4 separate regions of the Homo sapiens genome follow, and regions 2, 3 and 4 are each linked to region 1. The links are contacts of gene promoters, found by promoter capture Hi-C in blood cells and fetal thymus (Javierre and others, 2016). All regions are on one chromosome and are shown on one strand. Each heading gives the region's core, a stretch centred on a gene start or on the middle of the fragment in contact. The rest is flanking DNA. Distances are from core to core; before and after follow the strand shown. Region 1 holds the start of MMP7 (matrix metallopeptidase 7). Region 2 overlaps YAP1 (Yes1 associated transcriptional regulator). Region 3 overlaps YAP1 (Yes1 associated transcriptional regulator). Region 4 has its middle 80 kb from the start of BIRC3.

The links. The method cuts DNA at HindIII sites, captures the fragments that hold promoters and counts their contacts. A CHiCAGO score of 5 or more calls a contact.
Region 2: a contact is called between a fragment that was not itself captured here and the fragment with the promoter of MMP7 in region 1, in 1 of 17 cell types (non-activated CD4 T cells). The highest score is 6.0, in non-activated CD4 T cells.
Region 3: a fragment that was not itself captured here is called in contact with the fragment with the promoter of MMP7 in region 1 in 2 of 17 cell types (non-activated CD4 T cells and fetal thymus); the score reaches 6.8 in non-activated CD4 T cells.
Region 4: a fragment that was not itself captured here is called in contact with the fragment with the promoter of MMP7 in region 1 in 9 of 17 cell types (neutrophils, non-activated CD4 T cells, total CD4 T cells and 6 more); the score reaches 11.2 in neutrophils.

What each region holds. Positions count from the first base shown.
Region 1 is chr11:102,528,311-102,532,523 of GRCh38, reverse strand. MMP7 (matrix metallopeptidase 7) reads left to right here and starts at 1,777. Exons shown (of 6, transcript NM_002423.5): 1 at 1,777-1,931. The coding sequence starts at 1,824. The HindIII fragment of the contact is 6,591 bases long and covers 1-2,192 here.
Region 2 is chr11:102,188,665-102,192,877 of GRCh38, reverse strand. The region is part of intron 4 of YAP1 (Yes1 associated transcriptional regulator); the gene reads right to left. Among named protein-coding and RNA genes, the nearest start is that of YAP1-DT, 80 kb to the right of the region's middle. The HindIII fragment of the contact is 4,595 bases long and covers 1-4,213 here.
Region 3 is chr11:102,210,105-102,214,317 of GRCh38, reverse strand. All of the region lies in intron 6 of YAP1 (Yes1 associated transcriptional regulator), which reads right to left. Among named protein-coding and RNA genes, the nearest start is that of YAP1-DT, 100 kb to the right of the region's middle. The HindIII fragment of the contact is 2,317 bases long and covers 641-2,957 here.
Region 4 is chr11:102,235,055-102,239,267 of GRCh38, reverse strand. No RefSeq gene overlaps it. Among named protein-coding and RNA genes, the nearest start is that of BIRC3, 80 kb to the left of the region's middle. The HindIII fragment of the contact is 3,342 bases long and covers 527-3,868 here.

The DNA of each region.
Region 1 (4,213 bases), core at 528-3,027:
GAGGTTCAAGCAGTTCTCGTGCCTCAGCCTCCTGAGTAGCTAGGACTACAGGCACGCATCACCATGTTTGGCTAATTGTTGTATTTTTATTAGAAACAGGGTTTTGCCATGTTTCCCAGGCTTGTCTCAAACTCCTGACCTCAGGCAATCCACTGGCCTCAGCTTTCCAAAGTCCTAGGATTACAGGCGTGAGCCACCGCGCCTGGCCATGGATGTGTCTTTGCATTCATTTTCACCCAATTTGTGGCTTGTGTGCTCATTCACTTGAGGAAATGCCTTTTGATTTTAATTCAATGCAAATATTACCAAAAACGTGATATAATTCCATTTTTAGCTTATTCAAGTAAAGTTCATAAATATTCATTATTCTACAAATATTTATGGTGCACCTTATCACATGTCAAACTCTGACTAAGGATACCAATTACTCTAGTTAAACTGTGACCGTACAGAATCAAGACATCTCTGTAAAGAGAGCAAATTTAATTAACTGATCTGAAAATTTTACCTTTGCTGGCTCACAGTGCTCAATTACCATGTAATTGAAGTGATATGTGATTAATTAAATTTTTTAGCTCCAGCATATTTGGAGTGTTTCCCATGATGTATTAGAGTCAAAAGCCATGGTGTTCTCCCAAGTAATGTATAATATAATAAAAGAGACAGACCTATTACAAAATGAATAGGCAGTGCAGTGGGATAGAAAAAGCACTGAGCTACTATCTGTGTGAGCTGGGAGAAGTATAATAAGTTAAATTATCATCTTGGCCTCACTTTCATTTTTGGTAAGAATGGAGTCATTGGGCTAGAATCTGTAGGTAATGGATTCTTACTGCTATACGTAGAATAACCATTTTGTGTACTAAGGACCAATGCAGCCCTACCTGTAGCTGGGCAGCAGCCAGAGTCAGAGTGATTGGAAGAAAAAAATTGGATCTCCAAGTTGAAGGTCTAGCCTTGGAAGAATCTGTTACTATAAAATGAGAAGCAGAATAAGTAAGCCAGATGAAGAGTTAAACCCGTGCTTGTAGATTTTTGTTGGCTTGGTATTTTTTTGTGTTTAATTCAAGAAGAATTAGAGGCAGTGTTCCCCATTAAGAAAAGACATAAACTGATTAAAAGGAGACCCAAAGAAGGGAATTATCACTGCTCTGCTAAGGGACGTGGAAGGTGAGGGGACACAGCACAGTTGTATATAGAGTGGCCACTAATCCAGCCACACAGCAGCATTTCCATCTGCCTCCTGCCATCTTTCCCCTGTATGGAGAACCACAGGATTTTGGTGATGTTCTATTTCTTGACTTTGGTGACGGTTACAGTATTTGCTTAATTATTATTTCATTATTTACATGTTTTGTGCACTTTTCCAAACCTTTTAATTGTTAAGAATATATGGTACCATGTATTTAAGAATACATGGTACCATATAATAAGAATATATATTTAAGAATATATATTATTCTTTAAGAATATATGGTACCATAATGTCCTGAATGATACCTATGAGAGCAGTCATTTGACTTTGGCAAAAAAATGAGGTTTCTCATGGAGTCAATTTATGCAGCAGACAGAAAAAAAAATCCTTTGAAAGACAAATACATTGTGTGCTTCCTGCCAATAACGATGTAATACTTCCTCGTTTTAGTTAATGAAAAATAACACATACTTTCAAAGTTCTGTAGACTCTAAAAAGAAAGAAAACACTCAAATGAGTCACCTATTTCCACATTCGAGGCTGAGAAGCTATATAAATTTCTGCAGTCACTAGCAGAAAACACCAAATCAACCATAGGTCCAAGAACAATTGTCTCTGGACGGCAGCTATGCGACTCACCGTGCTGTGTGCTGTGTGCCTGCTGCCTGGCAGCCTGGCCCTGCCGCTGCCTCAGGAGGCGGGAGGCATGAGTGAGCTACAGTGGGAACAGGCTCAGGTATGTCACAGCCCACTTACTTAGGGTTCCATTCTTTTGCCATCTGCATTAAGAAATGTGTTTTTCAATTATTTCCCTTCCCATGTTAGCATTGCAGTGGAATTTTCTTTGGGGTGGTTCTTCGGATTATAAAAGCAATATATGTTTTCATCAAGTAGCCATTAAAAGCAGGTTTCAGAATCTGCTCAAATCGGGCTTGAGTTCCAACCCTCCACTCACTATGTAGATAGACTCAGGAAGGTCATCAAACTTCTCTAAGCTTCAGGTTTCCAATTTGGAAGTTGGAGATAAGAATGGTATCAACCAAATGAGGGTGTTGTGAAGCATTCAACACAATACCTGAAACATTGTTTAAATTAAGTTCTTATTTTTATTTATTATAACTTGAGATTCTTTTTCTATAGTATACAGAATATTGCCTCTTAAGATACAACCTGTAAATATACTGTTTGTGTATTTACAATACTGTTTGTAATGGAGATATCTGAAGTCAGAAAACATGGGTAGAAATTACAACTCTCCAACAAGTCAATGACAATAGACAAGGCATTAACATCTGACTTTGTTTTCTCATGTGTCCAGTAGAAAAAATAATATTATGTGTTTTATACCTCATGGGGTATTCTAGTAAGTAAATGAGGTGATAACAAAACCAACTAGCATGTATGTAACAATTGTAGATTATAAAGTACTTATATAGACATTGTGTCATTTAATCCTTAGTTCTATAAAAAGAGGAAACCAAAGTTAAACTGATTAGTGTACTTATTAGTGGTAGAGATAGAAATCAAGGACAAGTGCTTCTGGTTCAAAAATCATGTTCCTTGCAATATGCTTCTTAATAAGCAGTCTAATAAATATAAGCAGTCTACTAATTATTATTTGGTTAACTAATGGGATGATTACTTATAACTATTATTTGTAAATTTAGGCCTTAAGCATAAGAAAAGTCAATTTTTAATTCACATTAACTTAGACTTTTAAAAAGTTCCAGTTATAATAAGTTAGATTGAACCACATAAAGTTACTAGTATTTAACTTTTAAAATCTCCAAAACAGTAGTTTTATATGGTTCCACCTAATGAATTCTCCAGAAAGAGTACTCTGCGTTTAGTTTCTTTACTTAGAGTGAAGGTTGGCAGAAACTTAGTCTTCACTTGGAGGGATGTTAGCTAGGTTTAACAAAAAAACAGGAAAAGTCATCTCAACAAAGCAGAGAGATTTCTTCCAGAGGGTGTCTTGGTAAAGTCTGTAGCTCTAGAAGGGATTAAATGGGTTATTTGTTTTTAAATAAAGGATCAGTTATCAATTGTCATGGATGAACAATAAGTATTTGTTGTATTTAATGAGACAATTGTTGGTAACAGGAAAAAAAGACACAATATTAATAAGATTTCTTACATAAATTGCATATTCCTGGGCGGTCCTAAGACAGGTAACCATTACCATCTACTCCAAATAAACTGCAAATTAGTGAGCCAATGTTTAAATCATTTTAACAACAATATTATCAGGCATCATATAACCCTACACATGTTTCTAATGTATAGAAGTCAGAACACTTGAGTTCAAATACTGGTTCCTTCAGTTACTCACAAGGTGATCTTGTGCAATTTATTTCACTTCTCTGAGCTGTGTTTCTTCATGTATAAAATAGGGATAACAATGCCATACTTGTTTCATAGAGTGGTTATGAGGTTTACATAAAATAAATATGTAAGTGCCTGGCTCTAGTAAGTGCTTAAAAATGTTCCTGTGAGGTTGCTATTGTTGTTAGTTCATTCACTTTTGTTGTTGTTGTATTTGTGCTGCTGGATTCCTATCCTCATATTCAGATACTGAGAAACTTTAGAGAAATTCCCAGGAATCCAACCTTGCATGGAATAAACCTGGGAGTCCTACTGTATACTGCAATCTCCCAAAGTGGGTTTGACTAGAGATTTAACAGCAGAAAGAAGGGCTGGGAATGGAATGAGCAGAAAGAGGGAAAAGAGGACCTAGGAGTCAGGAAAGTCAAGTCCAGTTCTGCTACTAATTTAAGGTGTGAACCTGGGCACATAAATCATTTAGTTGCTATAAGCTTTGGTTCCTTCACCGGATTATTAAATTGAACTATTTAATAATTTCCTAATATCTTTTCCCAGAGCTAAAATTTTAAGACCCTTTAACTTTTAGCTGGAACCGCATCTCAGCTGGACTTTAGATAGGGCTGGTTGACCTCAGATCTCCCCCACAGGGTCTATGATAACACAGAGAATGTCCCAGTCGTACCCCTGAGGACA
Region 2 (4,213 bases), core at 968-3,467, 340 kb after region 1:
TTAGATTAAAGGCTGGAAGATTTCCCTGTCTCCTCTTCAAAAGTAATTCCACACTGTGACCAGAGGACCAAAGTTAAACTTAAATGGTGCAATAAATAGTTCAAAAGTATCTCTGAAACCTCAATGCACTCAAATCAAAAAGGCTATTGAGAAGTAACCTTAAGCAAGAGTCCAAAGCAGTTACTGAGCATATTGTATTCAGTTAAAGAGTGGAAATATTCTTAAGAGCATCCAGTCTAATCCAGTCACATTTTACAGATGAGTCAAGAGAAGTTAGGTATCTTTCTGATCCAGTTGGTTATATTGTGATAGCAGAACTTGGGTCTCTTGATTTCCAACTGAGAAGGTAAATTTTTCTACATCCCAATTTAATTCAGTTGAATCAAGTACATTGTTGTAACTATCATGTGGAAAAGAGATGCTAGCCTCTACTGCAGATTGAAGAAAGATTTTTGGAGGAGATTGAAAATGACAGGTCAGAGCAATGACATAACTATTTTTCTCACAGGATAATGTACATATGAAACACTATAGAATATAACACTTAAAGAAGCACTAGCAAAATGAAGGACATCCAGAGAAGTGAGTAAATTGATAAAGAACAGAGAACTCTGAACACATGAAAAACCAGAGAAACCACAGTTAGAAGAGAACACTGCTGGGATTAGAGCTGTATTCACACATGTGAAAGGAAGTAAATTTTTGGGTAATCAAGAAATATAAACTTTGTGGTCATTAGAATTTTCCTTAAGTAGAATGGGCTACACTATAATGAAGTAAACTAGTAAAGGGAAAGGTCAAAGCTGAGATCGGTGAGGCAAGAATTGGGTAAATAATTCAACTAGATGCCTTTAAAGTCTGTTCCAATCAGAGATCTTAAATTCTCTTACGTAATTAGAAACTTGGCCAGGCCCTATGGCTCACACCTGTAAACTCAGCACTTTGGGAGGTAGAGGCAGGTAGACTGCTTGAGCCCCAGGGGTTTGAGACCAGCCTGGGCAACACGGCAAAACCCCATGTCTACTAAAAACACAAAAAAATTAGCAGGGTATGGTGGCACATGCCTGTAGTCCCAGCTACAGGCGGGAGGCTTGTATGAGCCCAGGAATTAAGGCTGCAGTGAACTGAGATTGAGCCATGCTGCACTCTAGCCTGGGCGATGAGAGTGAGACCCTCTCTCCAAAAAAGAAAGAAACAATAAAGGAAGAAAAGAAAAAAAGAAAAACTCATTATCTTTGGGTAACTTATTCAAGATGAGTCACAATACAAGATGCAAGTGCATTAACCACTATTTTTCTCCCTCTCAAATTTTCATGTATCAGCATTAGTAGGTATTTCTGAAAGATTAACTGCATTGAATCTAAATTTCTTTTAAATTCTAGGTATCAAAAGATCAAATTCAAATTTCAGTTTTGCCATTTAACTATATAACCTTGGGTATAATTTCCCTGATCTCAGAGGGGCTCAGATTTTAGACCATATTCCCTAACTCTCCCAGCATTTAAAAAAAAAAAAAAAAGTGTTGGTGGTCCGAGGAATCGTAATGGCTGTGTGGTGCTATGGCACTTAGCGGGCCAGGGATGTTGAATGTTCTGCAGTGATCAGAAGAGTAGCATTCTCCCCACTGAAAAAATGATGATTAGAGGACTCATTATGAGGGCCAAATTTTGTGAGTTTTATCAGTTAATAATTTTTTTTTTTTTTGAGATGGAGTCTCGCTCTGTTGCCCAGGCTGGAGTGCAGTGGTGCGATCTTGGGCTCACTGCAACCTCTGCCTCCCAGGTTCAAGCGATTCTCCTGCCTCAGCCTCCTGAGTAGTTGGGACTATAGGTGCGTGCCACCAGCCCAGCTAATTTTTGTATTTTTAGCAGAGATGGGGTGTCACCATGTTGGCCAGGATGGTCTTGATCTCTAACCTCATGATCCATCAGCCTCGGCTTTTGAGATGGAGTTTCGCTCTGTCTCCCAGGCTAGAATGCAGTGCACCATCTTAGCTCACTGCAACCTCTGCCTACCGGGTTCAAGTGATTCTCAGTGCCTCAGCCTCCCAAGCAGCTGGGATTATAGGCGTGTGCCATCACACCTGGCTAATTTTTGCATTTTTAGTAGACGGGGTTTGACCATGTTGGCCAGGCTGGTCTTGAACTCCTTACCTAAAGTGATCTGCCCACCAGGGCCTCCCAAAGTGCTGGGATTACAGGCGTGAGCCACTGCATCCAGCCTGTTACTAATTTTTATTTTTATTCTTAATTTTTTGAGACAGAGTCTCTGTTGCCCAGGCTGGAGTAGAGTGGCATGATATTCACTCACTGCAACCTCTGCCGCCTGGATTCAAGTGATTCTCATGCCTCAGCCTCCTGAGTGACTACAAGCGTGCACCACCACTCCCAGCTATTTTTTTCTATTTTTAGTAGAGATGGGGTTTCACTATGTTGGCCAGGCTGGTCAGGAACTCCTGGCCTCAAGTGATCCATCCACCTTGACCTCCCAAAGTGCTGGGATTACAGGCATGAGCCACCGCACCTGGCCATCTGTTAATAATTTTTAGCTCGCAATAGCTCTTTTTATCTAAAACACACATCTTTTCCTCTGTACGCTAAGTAATTAATGTAGTCCATAACCAAATACTGACAGCCCAGGATAACCAGGAAAGACTTGAGTTGATAAGGGGAAAAAAAGCCTCAAACCTCAAAACAAAACAAAACAGAACAAAAAAAACCTCACTTTTAGCATACAGCTATCAAGAGACTTGCTTTGATAAAATTTAAATAATTAGATGCTGACATTCTCTTTGCTCAAGACTCCATTAATAAAGTTACCAATTTGGTTTCTAGAGACTTCAGTGGTTTTCCCCCAACACTAATAGGATGGATTCTTAGTTATTTAGTTGGTTGTTAGGTGCATTTTCATCAAAAGGAAAATATTATTTTTAACAACAGAAATATTTGGCTTAAAAAAGAAAAAATGTTAATGAATGTCTCAAAATTTTTATAGATATTTAATTATTAATGCCAAATATTTAACTCTGATGAAAAAGAAGTCTCAACAACCTTCGGCTTTAGTCTTATTTTAATAAATTGCATATAGGTATTTGTATTTTACTTATCCTTTTATTTCTTATTTCAAGACATTATAGTAACACATACACACGTGTATGTAAATGCACAGAAAGCAAGTTTTGGGAAACTGAAACAAAGGAACCAAAATCAACCTATGAGGTTTAATACCTCTGACATTTCTACACATAGAATTTCTGTGCACAGAACTGTAGTTAGGAATTAAATATTCTGTTTTTGTCACTCTGGACTGTTCATTACTTGCTTTAAAATTCAGAAGTATAATTTTTTCCCCAAATCTCTTGCTCCAATATTTTGTTTACACCAAATATTTTTATCCCAGTGGTGCCATCAGCACTTATTTCCTAAAACACAGATTGGTAACAATATTTTAATACATCTTTTTATAATATAAACAATAGCGAAAATAACATTAAAGATCAGTTTATCAACTATTAGTGTTTTAAAGATCTTTTTTCATTCTGAACAGCAATTATAATTTCATTGTGTTTTCATTAGGCCTTTTACTGGAAAATGTCCATGACTGTATTATATACAGTAATAGATCTACAACATACAAGGTGATGTTTAAACCTGAGACTCATGTTTGCCAGTACAAAATCTCCAGGGAAAAAAAATCACCTCCTATGTGTTTATATGAAATAATTTAATGGCTTGCATAATACTCAAGGAACCATTTTCTTGAACAAAGAGTAAAAACACTCCTAATATGACTCCTTAAAAAAACAAACAAAAAAAGCCCTATTTTTCTTAAAACTCAATAAACATCAGGGCATCCTTATTGCCATCTGATGTCACTTCATGATTTGTTATAAATTACTAATGAATTCTCTAAAATTAAAATATTAAAGAAATAGCTTTTAAATGTTAAAGAAAAAAATCATTAAAAAACCCAATCCACAACAAATTACTCTTTTATTCCCTAAAATTACATAAATAACATTAATTTCATGTGAGATGTGAAGGATTGATACTATAAATATAGTCATGTGTCACTTAATAACCAGGATATGCTTTGTGAAATGGATCATTGGCAATTCTGTCACTGTGCAAACATCTTAGAGAGTACTTACACAAACCTAGATGGTATAGCCTACTACATGCCTAGGCTGTAAGGTATAGCCTATCGCCCCAAG
Region 3 (4,213 bases), core at 550-3,049, 320 kb after region 1:
GTCTATTCATTACCACCTATAAGGAATGGCAACTACACATTATTCAGTAGTTGCCAAATATTTATACTGTAATTTCTATACAGATTGAAGCAATTACTTGCCCAGAAATGAAAGTAACCCCATATCATACTTTTGACCACCTAAATTGGAATTATACTGGCTACTGAGTTAAGACATCTTTATACAGCAGTGTTGTTTTTATTTCTGGGTAGTTTCAAGAATTCTCTAATTTTCTTTTTTTGAGGCAGAGTCTCACTCTGTCACCCAGGCTGGAGTGTAGTGGCATGATCTCAGCTCACTGAACCGCTGCCTCCCAGACTCAGGCCATCCTCCCACCTCAGCCTCCTGAGTAGCTGGGACTACAGGTGCATGCCACCAAGCCCAGCTAATTTTTCCGTTTTTAGTAGAGATGGACTTTCACCATATTGGCCAGGCAGGTCTCGGACTTCTGACCTCAGGTCATTTGCCTGCCTCGGCCTCTCAAAGTGCTGGGATTACAGGCGTGAGCCACTGTGCCCTGCCTCAAGAATTCTCATAAGGGCACTTGGGAATGAATCTCACCCTAAGCCTTAAAACAGAAATGAAGAATCTTTACTGGTAAGAAAGGGGATAAGCAAGGTTCTCACTATGGGGAAAAGCTTGTGAGCAGAATAACAGCAACAAGGCAGTGGAGTACACTTAGCTAATAATGGAAGAGTTACTGGCTTAACTGGAACCAGTGAGTGAAAAGGCTACTGACCACAGACCATGAGCCAGTTGCAGAGTTTAAACTCGATCTCATAGGTACTAGGGAACCCCAGATATTAAGAACCAAATTCTTTTTCTTTTTTTCAAGACGGAGTTTTGCTCTTTTCGCCAGGCTGGAGTGCAATGCCACGATCTTGGCTCACTGCAACCTCTGCCTCCCAGGTTCAGGCGATTCTCCCTCCTCAGCCTCCTGAGCAGCTGGGATTAAAGGCGCCCGCCCCACCACATCCAGCTAATTTCCGTATTTTTAGTAGAGACGGGTTTCACCATGTTGACCAGGCTGGTCTCAAACTCCTGACTTCAGGTGATCCACCCGCCTTGGCCTCCCAAAGTGCTGGGATTACAAGCGTGAGCCACCGCCCCCAGTCCAAGAACCATATTCTTAAGCACAAGAGAAGGTAGAAGTGTTCGCACCTCAGGGGGGACTATCTTTCCTCAAAGTTCTTCTCTCAAAAGACCTTAAAACAGAAGCTAGAGTGCATTCCTAAACCCACTTGCTCAAAAGGTCTCTCCAATTTACAAGTGAGCACTGATGTGTAACAGAGATATGACTAGAAAATAGCATTAACTGCTCAATCTCACAAAGCAAAGATGTTTACAGTTTCAGAAAGTTTCTTCTGAGAATGGAAATTGCTTTTGAAACATAAAAATCATAAGTAACCAAAATGAAATTAAAATGTTAAGCTCTTTGGCAGGGTGTGGTGGCTCATGCCTGTAATCCCAGAACTTTGGGAGGACGAGGTGGGCAGATCACCTGAGGTTGGGAGTTCAAGACCAGGCTGACCAACATGGAGAAACCCTGTCTCTACCAAAAACACAAAATTAGCCGGGCATGGTGGCGAATGCCTGTAATCCCAGCTACTTGGGAGGCTGAGGCAGAATCATTTGAACCCGGGAGGCAGAGGTTGCGGTGAGCAGAGATCATGCCATTGCACTCCAACCTGGGCGACAAGGGCAAAACTCCGTCTCAAAATAAAAATAAAAATAAAAATAAAAATAAAAATAAAAAGTTAAGCTCTGTAAGGATGAATTTTTCCAAAATCCTGCCAACATAGTATAATAAATTAAGGTGATAATTTCCATATTTAACTAAGAAGATATATAAATGCCTTTAAAGTTTTTTCAAAATTTTACATTTCAATATCACTTGGGCCATGGATCTTGGAATTTTTCATTAACCTCACCCATACTGACGTTAGTGTACACGAGCACAGCACCCTACAACAGCCACATGATATGTTAAATCCTATAGGAAGTACTTAAAGACAGCTTCTGTAGTAATTCATAAGCATTTTGAAGTTTAGTGGCTTTCCACATCCCACAGCATATGAGGTATACGATTAGAAAATGACACTGATCTCACTATTGCTTGCTAACTCAGCTGCATTAATATCTATTACAAAGTATAAGTTAAAAACCCAGTAACTTTACAACAGCGTCTAGTGTTCAGATACTGAGTGATGTCTTTATACCCTCTGTTCTTTGGGGCTGAAAAGTCCTTTCTAGCTTTCTTGATTATTCTGAGAAACACTATTTAAAGCCATCTTCACTTAAGATATGACTCTTCTGGCTGGGCGCGGTGGCTCACGCCTGTAATACCAGTGCTTTGGGAGGCCGAGGCAGGCGAATCATGAGGTCAGGAGGTGGAGACCATCCTGGATAACATGGTGAAACCCCGTCTCTACTAAAAACACAAAAAATTAGCTGGGCGTAGTGGCAGGCACCTGTAATCACAGCCACTCAGGAGGCTGAGGCAGGAGAATTGCTTGAACCTGGGAGGTGGAGGTTGCAGTGAGCTGAGATTGCGCCACTGCACTCCAGCCTGGGTGACAGAGCAAGACTCCATCTCAAAAAAAAAAAGAAGAAAAGACATGACTCTTCTTTGTGATCTATTTCCTGACATCTACCTTAAGGTTATTTAGAAAATAATAGGATGAGAAAAATATACACATGCTTTCTTGATACAAATACCACCAGATTTCTTGATCTATTTCAAATATAACCCTATACTTGAATTTCATACATTTACTGATAACTTTCCACAATTATGCCAGGTAAATATTAAACACTGACAACTAAAGCATATATAACAAACCAATATTTTAATCTCCAGCATATGCAAAGAAGATTTTTAAAAACCTCTTTCAAGTTTTTTGCTCTGGTCTGGGCAAATCTGAGTAATTACCTCTAATCTTCGTATCTTAGAAGCTTTACTACTAATAAGCCTCACCTTTTCTAAAACTTTACTATTTTAAAAAATCTAAGAATTCCTGATAATTTTAATAACAGTAAAGATTTACTTTTCTATTCAAGTATGAAACAAAGATCAAGAAGAATTTGACTTATTTATCAGATTCAGGGTATAAGACCTTGGGAAAAAAGGAAACAATTTCAACATTTTTTTGGCATGGAGGACTTTTTACCTGAATCCAAATCTCCTTTGAGTTAATTTCTGCTCCTATATTAGTTTCTATTTCATTTATCATGAATAAAATTCTTCTTTCAGAAACACTTCAGGCCAGACGTGGTGGCTCACGCCTGTAATCCCAGCAATTTGGGAGGCTGAGGTGGGCGGATCACGAGGTCAGGAGATCGAGACCATCCTGGCTAACACTGTGAAACCCCGTCTCTACTAAAAAATTCAAAAAGAATTAGCTGGGCATGGTGGCGGGCGCCTGTAGTCCCAGCTACTTGGGAGGCTGAGGCAGGAGAATGGTGTGAACCCGGAAGGCGGAGCTTGCAGTGAGCCGAGATCACACCACTGCACTCCAGCCTCGGCAACAGAGCGAAACTCCATCTCAAAAACAAAAACAAAAAACAAAAACAAAAAGACAAAACAAAACAAACACTTCAGAGAAATGGCAAAGAAAAAAATGGCTTCACGTTATAAAGACCCAATGCTATCCTGCACTTCACAGTCAAATGGTATATTAGTGCCCCCTCATCATAAGAATGTCTATGCTCAACTTTGGTGAAGATGGCTTATTATTGAGTTATCCCTTGCTTGGTCTTTTGATTAATGGTGGCATTTATGAGATAGATAAAGAAGAATAGAGATTTTCCCTCTCACAAAATTAACTGGTTTCTATGAAGACTGTATCTGACTTTTATCATCATGGTGCTCCAACGGACAACTTAACAGTATCCAAAATGAGTAGAATTTTGCCAACTCCTACTTCTACAGCAGATTCTAAAACAATGTACTTATTTAGCATAGTGCAGAGTAAGTTACATAGAAGGTGAGGCATTATATGGTTGCTTCTGCCCCAAGAGAAGTAGAATGATCCTCTGGCTCCGAATTTCTTCTAATCTTGTGGACCTCAAACACCTAAAATCTTTTTGGTTTTAAGAACGAGATTCTTCCCACGAGTCAGACAAGTGCCTGTGTTAGAAGAAAAATTGGCCACAATCTTTCCTTCTAAATAAGATGCCTTCACAACCAGGGCTCCCTGGGGTTCATCAGAGA
Region 4 (4,213 bases), core at 948-3,447, 290 kb after region 1:
ATTTATTTATAGCTCAGCCAAACTATAATACTCCCTGATATGGTTTGGCTCTGTGTCCCCACCCAAATCTCATCTCAAATTGTAATCCCTATGTGTTGAGGGAGGGACCTGGTGGGAGGTGTTTAAATCATAGGGGCAATTTCCCCCATGCTGTTCTCATGATAGTGAGGGATTTCTCACGAGATCTGATGGATTTAAAAGTGGCAGTTTCCCCTGCACTCTGTCTCTCTCCTGCTGCCATGTAAGATGTACCTTGCTTCCCCTTCACCTTCTGCCATGACTGTAAGTTTCCAATTCCAGAGGCCTCCCCAGCCGTGCAGAACTGTGAGTCAATTAAATCTCTTTTGCTTGTAAATTACCGGTCTCAAGTAGTATCTGTATAGCAGTGTGAGAATGGACTAATACACTTCCCATTCCTCCAACTATTCTTAGTTTTCCTTACCTAGTGCTTTCTCTGCCACTGACCACTTCTGTTGGGTTAGTCATAACCACTCAATGCCCAGCTTAAATAGAACCTGTACAAGCTTTCCCTGATCATCCTAGGAGGAAGTAATCTTCCCATAGACTGTGCTCTCTCACTACATTGTGTGAACTAACTTCAGCACTTAACAGTCTTACCTTTACTCTTGGTAAGCTCCCTGAGGAAGTTACCATGCCACTTATTACTCAAGTTGGAATATGTTCCAAGTGTGTTTGTTGAGCAAATGTACATGATTTTTTAAAATGGATGGAAGATCTAACCTGTTACAGCATTGTCCTATTGTTGTGGCAATTTTCCTAGGATTCCCTCTGTGTGGAGAGCAAAGTCCTACCTGCAGTGGGGCCAGAGGTAGGGAAGCTCATAACTGAGAAGACAATTTTGAGCCCCAGGGAATACGGTTAGCCTTGTATACAGAAAGCATTTTCCAGTTATGGGCTACCCCCTCAACTTCTAGTCATCTCACAGCCATAGTGTGGGATTTAAACCTAGGTTTGAGGCACACAATTAGGAATTGTAATAATTATGTCTTATTTGATCTTGGTATGACCAAACAAGGAGATCATATGTGGGAGCATCTCAGTAATTACAGAATATTAAAATACTGAAAAACAAATAGCATACTTATAAAATTGAAGATGGTGTGCATCTTAATGACAGAACAAGACAGAGCCTCATGTACTTATGCAGATGCCCTGGGTAGACCTACTCAAGTTTGAAGGACTATTTTGAATTATTCAATAATACTATGTCTTTAAACAAGATGATATTGAGAAAAGGTCATAGTGATTTTAAAATACAGTATCACTTTTAAGGAATGTTAACGGTTTACCAGTTGCTTTTATAACACTTTGATCTTCTTTATCAGTGTCTTGAGATAGTGCAAATTGTAGTACGTTCACTTTACCCCTGATGGAGAAAAAGTCTGAGAGACTCCAAATCCCACAGTAAGTGATGGCAGTGGGACACCAACTTAATTGGAATAATCTGCCTTTCAAATTTGTCATAGTGACCAGGATAGAACAACAAAACTATGAGAACACTGGAGATGTTCAGGTATTGAGAATTTTTCTTCAGTGATTTTGGAAGACTGATAGGGATTTAGTCAAAGTTTTAGCTCAAATCAGTGGAAAATTTCCTCAGCAACATCCTGAATTTGGGGTAGGGTTTGCCACTGCATTCCAGATAAAGATGTGGCCTCGAAGGTGAGCTGTGAGTTGGCTGTTAAGCACCCGTCACCCCCATCCCCGCCCGCTGCCCCTCAATGAAGCATCAGCTGTTTTCTGAATGACACTAAATGGGCTTAGGCTGGTTTTCTGAAACTCCCATAGCAGAATTCCACAGAAATTCCTTTGGCCTAGAATACAGAAAAGCTATGCTGTCTTTCAATGATTTGGACTGTAAAAGAACAACTAAATCTCAAGTCCACATTCTTCACTGGGCAGTCCCATTTGGGATTATTTTACAGGGCTCAACAGACTTACTAGTGCTCAGAGACAAAACACCTCAGCAAATGGCCTCCTTTTGGAAGATGATGCACATGTGGTTTTTGTGGTGTGACTTCAAATTACCTAACAGTCTGGCTGTCCCTGAATATGAGCCATTGTATCTCTTATAAAATCTAAGGTCTTAATTCACGGTCATCCAAGTGATCAGTCTTATCTAGTTGTGATCCTAGTATCATTTAGAATCCACTGGGCTACAGCCCATGAGGCAGATGCCTCTGCTGAACTCTGCCTGCAGATGTGTTTACCTCCTCTTCCTTTTTTTTTTTTCCCCCTGAGACAGAGTCTCGCTCTGTTGCCCAGGCTGGAATGCAGTGGCGCGATCTCAGCTCACTGCAACCTCCGCCTCCTGGGTTCAAGCAATTCTCCGTGCCTCAGCCTCCCCAGTTGCTGGAATTACAGCTGCCTGCCACCGCAGCCAACGAATTTTTGTATTTTTAGTAGATACGGGGTCTCACCATGTTGTCCAGGCTGGTCCTGAACTCCTGACCTCAGGTAACCTGCCTGCCTTGGCCTCCCAAATTGCTGGGATTACAGGCGTGAGCCACCGTGCCAGGCTTTACCTCTTATTCAGTAGAAAAAAGTGCCAAATACAAGTTGCTGAGAGGTTCCCTGAAGGAGGAGGAAGTGTCTTTAGCTAGGTTTCCCAATGGCTGCATCACTAGTGAAGCTCAGCTTTGAGTAGCTGGCTTCAGTAGCTCTTGGTGATAGCACTGATAGACAGGAGATTTTCTCTCAGATCCTGCCATTTAATCCAGATCCTTGAGAAAATTAGTTCAAGTTTGCCAGATATGCTATCATTTTAATTGTGTAAATCCACTGTAACATAAAAACCCGATTTGAAACAGAACAAATGCTTTAAAAGGAACTGAGATGTGGGGCACGGCGTGGTGGCTCAGGCCTGTAATCCCAGCACTTTGGAAGGTGGAGGTGGGCAGATTGATTACTTGAGCTCAGGAGTTTGAGACCAGCCTGGACAACATGGTGAAACCCCACGTCTCTACAAAAAATACAAAAATTAGCTGGGTGGGTGGCGCAAGCTGCTTGGGAGGCTGAGGCACGAGAACTGCTTGAGCCCAGGAAGTGGAGGTTGCTGTGAGCTGACATTGCGGCACTGCACTCCAGCCTGGGTGACAGAGCGAGACCCCGTCTCAAAAAAAGAAAAAAAAAAAAAAAAAGAACTGAGATGTGGCTTCTAATAATATCCCAAGTAAAATTACAACCAAATGTGAAGTTTAACTCATATTTTATATAGATTCTATGAAGGTCGTGGGAACTATAATTCCACAAAAATATACCTGGGACAAGATGTAAGGAAACGTGGGGAAAGGTATGTCACAACCCTAAGAAGTTTTTACAAGTTCCTTTTACAAAAAAATCAAGCCCTGTCCACTAACTGAGTGCAAACCAATACCAATTTCACAAAGTTACAGTACCTCTAGTTCTTGTTTCTTTAACAGTTAAAGTTTGTTTTTAAGTTAACTAGACTAGGTGTTCAAAAATTTTACAGAAGTAGACCCTTTGCTAAGAGGTCTCCAAATAATTGCTTTCAGTGGCAAAGATACTAGGTTTTTTGTTTCTAACAGGATCATAGCAGCTTGTAAGTCAGGTCACTTTGGGAGTTTTGTTTTTTGTTAAAATACGGCAGACTTTAATTCAGAATACCTTTTCAGTGTCATTTTGTTTTGCTCATGTCTTGATTCTGCAACTGTTTTCATTTGTGGCAGTATTAAGGCTATGTTTATGGTTAAGAAATTATCCATTTTACCTATGTCAGAGCTTTTTGTGTTCAAGGTAGCAAAACATATTTTATGTGTGACTTGGAAAAACTGTAGTACTAAATGTCACCGACTTCTCATCTGAATTTTAATTTAGTAGTTAAGCTTTAAATCAAAAAAGATTTATCACAAAGTTCTCATGGCTAAAAAAGACTAAGTGCCAACAGTTTAAAGTTGAATAGGGATGACATGGCAGACATCCTGCCAGAGCTACTGTTGATTCCAACAGCGTTAGCACATGTGGAACCCCGGAGCCAGGAATTTACCCGCAATAAAGCCAGGTTTTCTGTCAGTAAAACTGATGATTACAGAAGCAGGGAGAGTCTGGCTGCCATTAGAGAAGGTAAGAAAACATCATCAGCTCCTTGGGGCTGCCTTTCTTTTGTAACCTCAGCTGTCAAGAAATGGAAATCGGGGTTGGGGAATTAAACAAAACCCCCAGTCTACCGATC